2 separate regions of the Homo sapiens genome follow, and region 2 is linked to region 1. Evidence: promoter capture Hi-C in 16 types of primary human blood cells and fetal thymus (Javierre and others, 2016). All regions are on one chromosome and are shown on one strand. Each heading gives the region's core, a stretch centred on a gene start or on the middle of the fragment in contact. The rest is flanking DNA. Distances are from core to core; before and after follow the strand shown. Region 1 holds the start of GATD3 (glutamine amidotransferase class 1 domain containing 3). Region 2 overlaps SUMO3 (small ubiquitin like modifier 3).

Region 1 (5,051 bases), core at 1,001-3,500:
CTTGCTCTGCAAAAAGTTACAGTTGGTTCCATACCAAGCCAAACGTCCCCCACACCCCCATTCCAATTCACTGTCGGTTGGTGGGTTACGACTATGACAAACCCTCAGAAGTGGGCTATGGAGATCAGCTGGTCCCAACAGCTCCCTTTGCAAACTGGGGTATGGGGGCCGGGTGACTCCACTGAGGGCACAGCCTGGAGGCGTGCGGGTCCCCGGCTGCTGAGTGCTCTACCTACACCCAGGGCCTGGCTGCCCTCCTCCAGTTGCTTGCTGCAAGCACCAAGAGTGAGAAGCAGCAGTGTGCTCAGAGTGCCACGTGCACAGACGGTGTGACGGGGCTTTCGGTCACTACTTAGTTCAATTTCTAGTCTCCCTCAACTTTCCCATCACAGATGGTGGGAGAGACACAAGAGACCCCAGGACAACACCACAGGCCAGGCAGCTCCATCTCCCCAAGGGCAAGGGCAACAGAAGCTCCTCCTGGGGACAACAGCTGACATTATGGGGGCTCACGCTGGCATCCGCAACTCCCAGTGCCAACAGGAGATAGGTGGCTAAGCCCACCCACACACTAAGCCCTCACTGCCCCTTACGTGGAGGAGGAAACCGAGGCATGAAGTGCAGTGACTTGCCAGAGGGAGAGGTCAGCACCTGGCCCTGGCACTTGGGTTCCGCTACCCATAAGAAATCCACCCAGACACCCCAGACACAAGACCCTGCCGTTCTGCCTGGGAGGGCTCAAGCTATTCTGGGGCTATTTTCTATCCCACCAAGGCCAAATCATGAAACACATCCTGGCCCTTTCCCCCAGCTCACTCTGCCTAGTGCCAACTCCAACCAGCCAAGGTGGGCCACCCACAAAGCCACCAGCCTCAGGCCACTCTCCATGGCCTGACACCCCTTTCGCCACCACCCAGCTCTCCCCTCTCCAGTTCACCCTGAACCACATGGGAACTACAGGTACCTGGCACGCGTGGTGGCCTCCTGCCCTACTGGTTCGGCCTGCAGTCATTTCCAGTAGCACAGGAAATCAGGCCACCAAGCACTCAGCAACAGCTGACCAGTTACGTAAACAGTAACCTGTCTAGGACCCAGAAATACCACGCAACTGTTAAAATGATGTTGAGAACTGAATGAATGGGAATTACTTCCCATGCGTCAGAAACATTTGCAAAACACGGGTGAGTGTGATCTCAGTGTTTTCAAAATGTGTGTGTCCTGAAAAACACTCAAGTGAAATGCTAAGTCATTTCTAGGCTCTAGGTGACAGCATAAGCGACACTTAAAAACTGTTCTTTCTTAGCGTCTCCCTGGGTTTTGCAAGTCGTTTTTGCTTTTTTTTAGCCAAGAATAGGGTATTTAAAATACAAGCTCTCTCGGCCGGGTGCAGTGGCTCATGCCTGTAATCCCAGCACTTTGGGAGGCCAAAGCGGGAGGATCACTTGAGGTCAGGAGTTTGAGACCAGCCTGGCCAACATGGTGAAACTCCGTATCTACCAAAAATACACAAATTAGTTGGGTGTGGTGGTGCATGCTTGTAGTCCCAGCTACTCGGAAGGCTGAGGCAGGAGAATCGCTTGAACCCAGGAGGCGGAGGCCGCAGTGAGCCAAGATCGCGCCATTGCACTCCAGACTGGGCGCTGTCTCAAAAGACAAAAAGTAAAAATAAAATAAAATACATGCTTTCTCTAAGCTGTTCAAAAAAGAGTAAACTTCACTGGTGGAGAGGCCTTCTCGAGGCCCCCGGGGTGGAGGACCAGCTGCCCCTGAGGACTTACGCCGAGGCCTCGTGGATCTCGGTCCCATCGTAGACTCCGCATCCAGACAGCACCTGCGAGAGGAGCGGGAGCTGACCCGGGGGAAAGGGGCCGACCTGGGCGGCGGGAGTTGACTGGGGGGAAAGGGGCCGACCTGGGCCGCGGGCGCTGACCCGGGAAAATGGGGCCGACCTGGGCCGCAGGAGCTGACTTGGGGTGAAGGAGCCGACGTGGGGCGGCGGGAGCGGACCTAGGAAGAGGGGCCGACCTTGGGCAGAGAACAGCGAAGGCTGATCTCTGGAGGCGGGAGCTGACCTCACCCCCTCCGTCCACTCACCAGCGCGACCCTGGCCGCGGGGCGCGGCACGGAGAGGTGAAGGGCTGCGCGCTGGGAAGGCGTCCGACCGCCGGGGGACAGGGACGTGAATGCAGATGCCGCAGCGAGCCTCGAGGCCACCAGGACCCTCACAGCCGCCATTGCGGTGAGGACAGCGGGGTCGGAAGGTCACGCAGGGACAGAGCGTGCGCACCCACCCCTCTACAAACGCGTTGCTCGTCGGGACTGCGCCTGCGCAGCCTTCTGGGCGGAGCCAAGACCCGCCCCCGTCTCAGCCCTATCCAGTGAGTTCGCCGGTGGGCGGGGGCCGCGCCTGCGCAGAGCCTCCGAATAGAGTTCCGGGAACCCTGTCTTCCTTCCGGTGGTGGCTGAGGGCTCGTGCTCGAGGCTGAGGGATGCTGGTGACTCCCGGGGTCCCCAGCCCCGCCCCCATCGGACGCCTCCACAGGCGGCGCACCCTTTCCGCCATCCGCAGAGCAAGGCTGCCTCGGGGCGGCTCAGTCCGGCGCTTCTTACCTTACCTCCGTCTCATCCTTAACTCACCACGAGCGTCCAGGGTCCACATCCTCCTAAATGGCCACTCGTCTTAATCTCGGCGTCAGGACCCACGCGGGGTCAGGACTACCCCTCCGCTTCCATGACTGTCTCCTCGCGGCTCCGGCTCCCACGGAGCGACCCCTCCGGGTTTTACTGACCCCGGGATGTTGTATCCTGGAAACTGCAGTTCCACCCAGGGGCTTGATCTGGGTTAGTCTGGGGGCAAGTGAGCCGCCGATTCTGTTTGGGTTTTTTTTTTTTTTTTTTTGAGACGGAGTTTCCCTCTTGTTGCCCGGGCTGGAGTGCAATGGCGCGAAGTCGGCTCAACGCAACCTCCGCCTCCCAGGTTCAAGCGACTCTTCTGCCTCAGCCTCCCAAGTAGCTGGGACTACAGGCATGCGCCACCACGCCAGGCTAATTTTGTATTTTTAGTAGAGACGGGGTTTCTCCATGTTGGTCTGGCTGGTCTTGAACTCCCGAGCTCAGGTGATCTGCCCGCCTCGGACTCCCAAAGTGCTGGGATTACAGGCGTGAGCCACCATTCCCGGGCGCTGTTTGGGTTTGTTTTTTTGTTTTTGTTTTTTACGTTCACAGCATGGACGGTCAGTGTGAAGATCCCAGCTGCTCGGGTCCTAGCTGGAATTCTTCCATTAAAAAAATCTGTTTGTTATGCATGGGTTAGTTCACAGAGGAATAGCTGGATAAGTGCTGGCTTTTTCCCCGATTTACCCATTTTCAACCTAATAATGCAGGTTTTTGAAATAATGTGAATGGTTACTGCTGGCGGATGTTCACAGGGACACACCGGATTCTACAGACACATCTGATGATCTAGCCACGGCTGTCACTTTCCCCACTGCCGCGTTGTCCATCACTAGGACTTTACTGCCAATCCTTGCAAGATAGTGGGGAACTAGAATAACAGACATGGGACATTACCAGTTACAACCAAAGACAAGCTTGGCACATTTGACTGTCCTCGTTCCTGCTCCTCCGTGCCTGGCCCTCTTCAGGCTTCTCAGCTCCTGGGGAGCGGCCAGCCAGGGAGCATCAGCTGGTGGGAGCGATGGGGTTGTGGGATGGCACAAAAAAACACCAAGCGCCACTCAGAAAGGAAATGCCGAATGCAGACTCTCACTCAGTCGGTGTGGGGGCCAGGACCCTGTCTCTACCAAGTGTGCGGGAGCTGCCCCTGGCCGGGAGCTCCCAGACCCCACTGCAGAGCCGCAGCTCCAGTTGTCCCAGGGGCGACTACTCAGGTGTCCATCGCCATGCACATGTGACACAGAAAAGGGTGAGGCGAGGAGGGGGAACGCTGGAAATTGTTTCACGGAAAAGGGCGAGGCAAGGGAGGGGAACACTGGAACTTGTGCTTTGGGTAGGCGATAGCTAAGGATTCTCTCTCGTCTGGGTCACGGAGATTGTGCAGCCACAGAACACCTGGTGTCATCAGGGCCTGAGCTCCTCCCTTCTACAAAGACCTCTGGTCTGCAGGCCTGCAGGTACAGTGCTGTGGGCCACAAGGCACTGCCTGTCGTATTCATCTCCACTCTCTAGCACATCTGGCCTCACGCCACCCCCGGGAGGCCGGCAGGCAGATATCAGCTCCACTTCCCAGATAAGCAAGGGAGCCAGGTACTACCCAGGGTCTTGGGGGCCACACCGCTGGCGAGGGACAGGCTGGGCCTGGCAGACAGCACTGGCAGTCGGTGAAGTGCCCACCTCAGTGTCAGCCTCAGGTCCTGACCCTGGAGGCTGCTGTTACTGAGCTGTGGGGACCAGGATGCCCTACCATGATGGAGACCCAAGCCTCTCTCATGATGACTATTCCCAAGGGCACTGCAGAGGGGAGGAGCTGTCTCCTCCTCCGTGTGGCCCACGCAGAGCTGGTGCAGGTCTGAGTGAGCTCACCAAGACAGGCCAATCCCAGCCCCAGACTCCAAAGCATCCCCAAGAGGTCAGGGAGAGGCTCTGTGCCCCTGACCCCAAGGATATGCACAGGTCACAAGGCAGAGCCCCCGCTAGACAGCAGGAGCACCCTGCTCTGTCAGCCTGCTTCCCCAGGACGGAGGCCCTGGTGGTAAGGCAGGCAGGTCTTGAGCCCCCACAAGACAGCAGGATACAACATAACCCTTTTTAATCTGAAGTGTAGACTTCATCCTCACGTTAGAAAACTCCATCTTTTTTTTAATCCCTAAGTTCTTTATCAAACCTTTATGTTAAAGATATAAATAAGTCTCATACAAAGTTCATGTGAATACCTCTCTGAGACGCATTTTCAACATTCATCACCGTTCACACGGCCCCGCTCCTGGGGCCAGGTGCCAGTGCGTGCCGGCCCCTGGCGTGACCCGTCGGCTCGCTGTCCTGATGGGCTACATGTGTGCACAGGAAAAGCAAGTCACTACCACTAGTGACAG
Region 2 (5,051 bases), core at 1,077-3,576, 670 kb before region 1:
CCCTCACTTGACGGGCCCTTCTGTGAGCTGGGGGCTTTGGCTTTCATGGCATGGTCCCCCGCACTTGGTATAAAGCGCAAGGCTCCTGTGGGTCCTAGGACTCAGTGCTGCTAATCAGATGTTCTTAATTAGAATCTGATTTTGTGTAATTTTCAGTAAGAATTTTAGACATTTCAGTTTATCTTCTAGACTCAGTTTTTCTCTCAGTTAACATTTTAGCTTTGAATCTGCTTTTGTGAGTTTTGTTAGGGGAAGCTTGTTGAACCGTAAGGGCTGTAGTGAGCATACAGCAATGCCTCTTCCATGCGTGCTGAGCTGCAGTGAGGGGACGGACAAGAGCCAAGGTGTGACCAGGTGATGTCGCTAGTGTCAGGGAACACTCATGCCAGTGAGGATCTTCCCACTCTCTGATGAAAACTAACAGGCTCCCCTCTCTCTCGCTGTGCCTGTTGTGACAACCATGACAGCTGGAGATGGAGGACGAGGACACCATCGACGTGTTCCAGCAGCAGACGGGAGGTGTGCCGGAGAGCAGCCTGGCAGGGCACAGTTTCTAGAGGGCCCGTCCCCAGCCCGGGCCGTCCATCCTCGCATTGCTGTTGAATGGTGAGCACGTGACCATGCCGACCACAAAGGTGTCTGCGGAAACTCGAGGACATTCACCACGATGATTTTCCTCTCTTTGATGTACTTCAAGTGCAACTCAAAACTATATCTGCAGGGATGAATCTGTAACTTAAATTGGGCCAATCAGAATTGTTATCTTTGTTCAGGTAAAATGAGTTGCAAGATATTGTGGGTACTTTTGTGTGCTCATTTGTGTTTTCCCCCCCTCCTACAACATTTTTTTAACCCCAAAATTATAGCCTGAATGTTCGCTTTTAGTCTGGCCAGGGATCTGACTCCTGAGTTGGTTGCCTCTCCCCTGCTCACTCCAGTCACATAGAGAATTGGTGTTTCCCGCAGTGGGGATGCAGCTGTTGGACAGGTATTGGGGGCAAGGTTGGTAGGGAGGACAGACTGTCACTTGCTGTTACAGGCACAGGTGATTAAAATGCTAAATATTGCAAATTTAAGCTTTGTCAGTATATGGAAAAGTTGAAGGGAAAATACTGGAATGCTTCTTCAAAGGTTAAAAAATAACCGAGTCTTTTGGTAATTTGACCCCACGTGCTCTCTGGCCCTCAAGCATGTAACCTCGGGGTCTGAGGCCCAGGACCCACCCCCCTGCCACCCCTCCCACCCCACTCCCTGCTCAGTACCTGGCGTTGGTACACAGGCAAGGATTGGCACAACCAAAATTGGCCTTTTTCTCCCTCTTAATATTGAAGAAATTCCCACATTTCTCATTTGGTAATGGTGTTGTGGCCTCAGATTTCTTCTAGTATTTGCTTCTGATGAATGATTATGGTCTATACATAAAAAAGTAAGACTAAGTATTGCTGAATTTGCAGTTATGTTGTCGTGTATAAGAGCTACTTCCAAGTGTGGTTACAAATGAACCCATGGAATGATGACTTCATGTTCTTCTCGTGGGTTTGTGCCGTGCTGCTTTCCAAATAGGTATTGAATTTATGCATTAGTCTGGTGATTTCAGTTCTGTGAAATATTTTGGGATCTATACCAATTAAACATTTTCATAGTTCTGCCTATTGTCCTTCCCTGAGGCTCCATTGCTGCTTGGTGGCCATTCTCTGCCTTTTTACAGTCACCTGAACAATGACCCATCATCTCTTGCTTGCTTGAAATCTTGCTGAAATGTTCTCATTTCCTGTTTGCTGTATGGGCTCGGGTGGGATGTTTGTTGGCTCTGTTGTGTTTATTCACCAATTTGTACATTATTTGTTGTCCTTTACTACTGTAAACAGTAAATATAGTTTGGTATTCTGTCTCTTGGCTTCTACTAAACACTGCATTTGAAGGTTGGGGCATACTGGTACAATTCAGTGTTTGAATTGACCATTCCAGGCAGCCACTGCACTGAGAAACTTTGATTGAAAAGCTAGCCGCTGGAAGGTTAGTATTCGCCTGGCAGCTCATTTCCCCTCCCCTGGCACATCACCAATGCTAGTCCAGCCTTCTTCCTGCTGAGGGATGCATCCTCTCCTCAGAGACCTCCTGGCTGACAGCTGTCTGAGCTGGCATCACTGTGACATGTTACCCTCCCTCTCCTGGGTTTCGTATGTAAAGAAAGGGTGGATTTTAGAGGCAGGTGAGCTTGGGTGTTAGTCTAGGACATCTCTCGTTTTCTGGTGTTTGAATGTAAGTCAGCTTTCCTTCTGCCATGGACAACTTACCTATCTGCTTTGAAACTGAACTGACATTGATTTGGCTTTAAGAATTTCCCAGTGTGCAGTGGTGTAACAAAACCCAGGTTGAAAATGAGCTGTTTTAGCCCATCAGTTGAATGAACCCAAGGTGAAGAAAGATGGGCAGCTGTGGAGATGGAACACGTGATTCACTTGCACCAGGAAGAGTGCACGGATTAAGGCACAATACAGGATGGGGACATCTGCCAGATTCCCTAGGCAGCCTGGGGCGAAGCGGCTGCCAAAATCAATGAGGAAAGGGATGTGTCCCAGGCACCGTAGGTTAGATAAGAATAATGGCCAGGAGCATATGTGGATGTATTAGGGCAGCGCTGCTTGAACTTCCACCCACAACACCTCACAGCAGAACCAGCAGGATGTCCTGTCTTTCTAAAAAAGATTTGTAGAGATGGAGCTCTCACTATATTGCTGTATTAGTGCATCCTCACATTACTATAAAGAACTACCTGAGACTGGGTAATTTATAAAGAAAAGAGGTTTAATTGACTCATAGTTCTGTAGGCTGTACAGGAAGCATGGCTAGGGAGGCCTCAGGAAACTTATAATCATGGCAGAAGAGGAAGGGCATGGACACAAATCCAAACCATAAATCAGTTGCCCAAGCTGATCTCAGACTCCTGGCCTCAAGTGATCCTCGTGCCTCAGCCTGCCAAGTAGTTGGGATTACAGGCATGAGCCATGGTGCCCAGCAAAGGTATGTTCTTGAAGTTGTCTTTTTTCTGAGATTTATGCAAATGGTGCATTTGGAAAAATAGATCTGTTGGGATTACTATTTTCAACAAGATTACTTATGTGAAACTGACTCCAAGAATCTTTGGGTTAAATTGATGCTCCTGGAGGAGAGAGGCCCTATTTATCCTAGTATCTATGCCTGGGGTCCCAACTGGAACTTCTCCAGTTTTTGCACCGAAAGGTTCACATCCCAGGAACCCCCACTCCCAGGGAACTTGAGTTGTCATCTTAGCCATGCTGCAGGAGTGCCCAGCTGGAAACGCGTGATGTTCATGGGAAAACCCCACCGTATAACATGGGTTAAGCTGTGAGGTCCTTTTTATATTTCAGAACTTTAGTTGCTAAAGATAGAAAGCATTAATTTTATTCTGTACAGTTGGCCTCCCCAGGGTGTGCTGCCCTGCAGTATCACACACTGGCTGCTCAGAGTCCCTGGGACTCCACTACCACTTGATCCAAGTTGAGAGTTCCACGAGTTAGCCAGTTAAAACATAGGATGCCCAGCTAAGCTTGAATTCCACATAAGGTACTGAACGACGTCCCTGAAATGTTGCAGAGAGCCTGGTTCTCTGAAGATAAGGTGTTGTAACAGTCCTGTTGAGGGGAGAGACTGCCATCTTGTTTCAGCAACTCATATTTCAAGTGACTTTTGTCACTTGAAGCTGAAGCTAATCCTGATAGAAGCTGTAAACCACATTTCTGAAAAATAATAATTGGAAAACATACAGTGTTCTGCAGTAAGATGTCTGAAAAAGATGGATAAAATTATGAAAACATCAAGCATATGTTGCAGTGAACATCACGGCATTGACAGTAATGCTTTATTGCCCACATCTCCCATAACTGGAAAAGGGGAGCTGCTCTCCTTTAGGAGCACTGGACAGACTGCCTTGGGGTGTGGGGTGCTGTCTGATTAGAGAGAGAGCAGCTCTTGAATGGGGGAGGAAACACCTCCACTGTGACTTTTTGCACATTGCATTTGCACAAATTACTCTCTGAAACAGTCTCAAAGGACCATGTCATTTTATAAAGCACTGTGGTCATTTGAAAAGATGGAGGTAGACTGAAATTTTGAATTTTGGGGAATTTTCCTACACTATGCATACTTGTGAAGTTTGTATTGTTAAATTTCATTTGATTTGACAAATCCGTGTTAAGAGTATACGATGTCCAGGTACAGAGGCTGCCCCAGAAACAAGACAGAAGTAGGCAGGGACCCATGGCTCTCATGGAACACGCTTTTGGTTAGAGGCAACAGATAAGGGTAATACATTTATAGCATGCCAGTAAGTTCTATAGTACGGTGTGTTGAGTAGGTGTTGCAGAGAAAAAGGTATGCGGTGAAGGCCGGGTGGTGACGGCCTAGGCCACACTGAAGAGGCAACATTTGAGCAAAGACTGAAAGAGCAGGTGGGAAGAGTCGGGGACAAGAGCCGCCAGAAAGTGTTTCCGGGGAGGGAAGAGTCAGGGACTCTGAACCAGGCCAGGGCAGCTGGAGTGGAGTGAGAGGGAGGGAGGGTCTGGGAGTATGGCGGGGTGACCGGAGGCAGAGCAAAGCACTGCAGGACTTCAGCTTTACTGAGTGAAATGGGCGGAGCAGAGTGTGAATGTGATCAGACTTCTTTTCAAGGGATCATCTGCAATGCTGGAAAGGAAAAGACAAATGATAGATTATTGCAACAAACAGCCAGGCAAGAGATGCAAACTTTTTTTGCAAAGGTGTGTGTGTATATACATCCTTGCACCGGACAGCCACGAAGCACCTACTGTGCTGTGAAGTCAGTAAGGATGTGGGTTAAAATCGCTCACCTCACAGCGGGTCAATCGGGAAAGCACACCCACTCACTACAGCCATTATGGGAAAAAGGGCTCGCCCCTTACAGGATCCTCAACTGTGGAGAGGCCGGGAGCCCACGCGGGGCGCTGGGGAGTCTCTCAGCACCCCAGGGGTTCGGGCAGGGACCTGAGCCGCGCCCTCTCTCCCGGGGG

The links. The method cuts DNA at HindIII sites, captures the fragments that hold promoters and counts their contacts. A CHiCAGO score of 5 or more calls a contact.
Region 2: a contact is called between a fragment that was not itself captured here and the fragment with the promoter of GATD3 in region 1, in 1 of 17 cell types (naive B cells). The highest score is 6.2, in naive B cells.

Annotation. Positions count from the first base shown.
Region 1 is chr21:44,130,882-44,135,932 of GRCh38, reverse strand. GATD3 (glutamine amidotransferase class 1 domain containing 3) reads right to left here and starts at 2,250. Exons shown (of 7, transcript NM_004649.8): 1 at 2,095-2,250; 2 at 1,779-1,831. The coding sequence starts at 2,235. It overlaps PWP2 (PWP2 small subunit processome component), which reads right to left. Exons shown (of 21, transcript NM_005049.3): 21 at 4,752-5,051. RefSeq lists enhancers at 1,167-1,694, 1,695-2,222, 2,223-2,750. The HindIII fragment of the contact is 13,325 bases long and covers 1-3,592 here.
Region 2 is chr21:44,802,457-44,807,507 of GRCh38, reverse strand. SUMO3 (small ubiquitin like modifier 3) reads left to right here. Exons shown (of 4, transcript NM_006936.3): 4 at 468-1,891. The coding sequence ends at 557. It overlaps LINC01424 (long intergenic non-protein coding RNA 1424), which reads right to left. Exons shown (of 2, transcript NR_109928.1): 1 at 4,872-5,051; 2 at 2,791-3,761. Among named protein-coding and RNA genes, the nearest start is that of LINC01424, 2.7 kb to the right of the region's middle. RefSeq lists a silencer at 187-340. The HindIII fragment of the contact is 2,494 bases long and covers 1,080-3,573 here.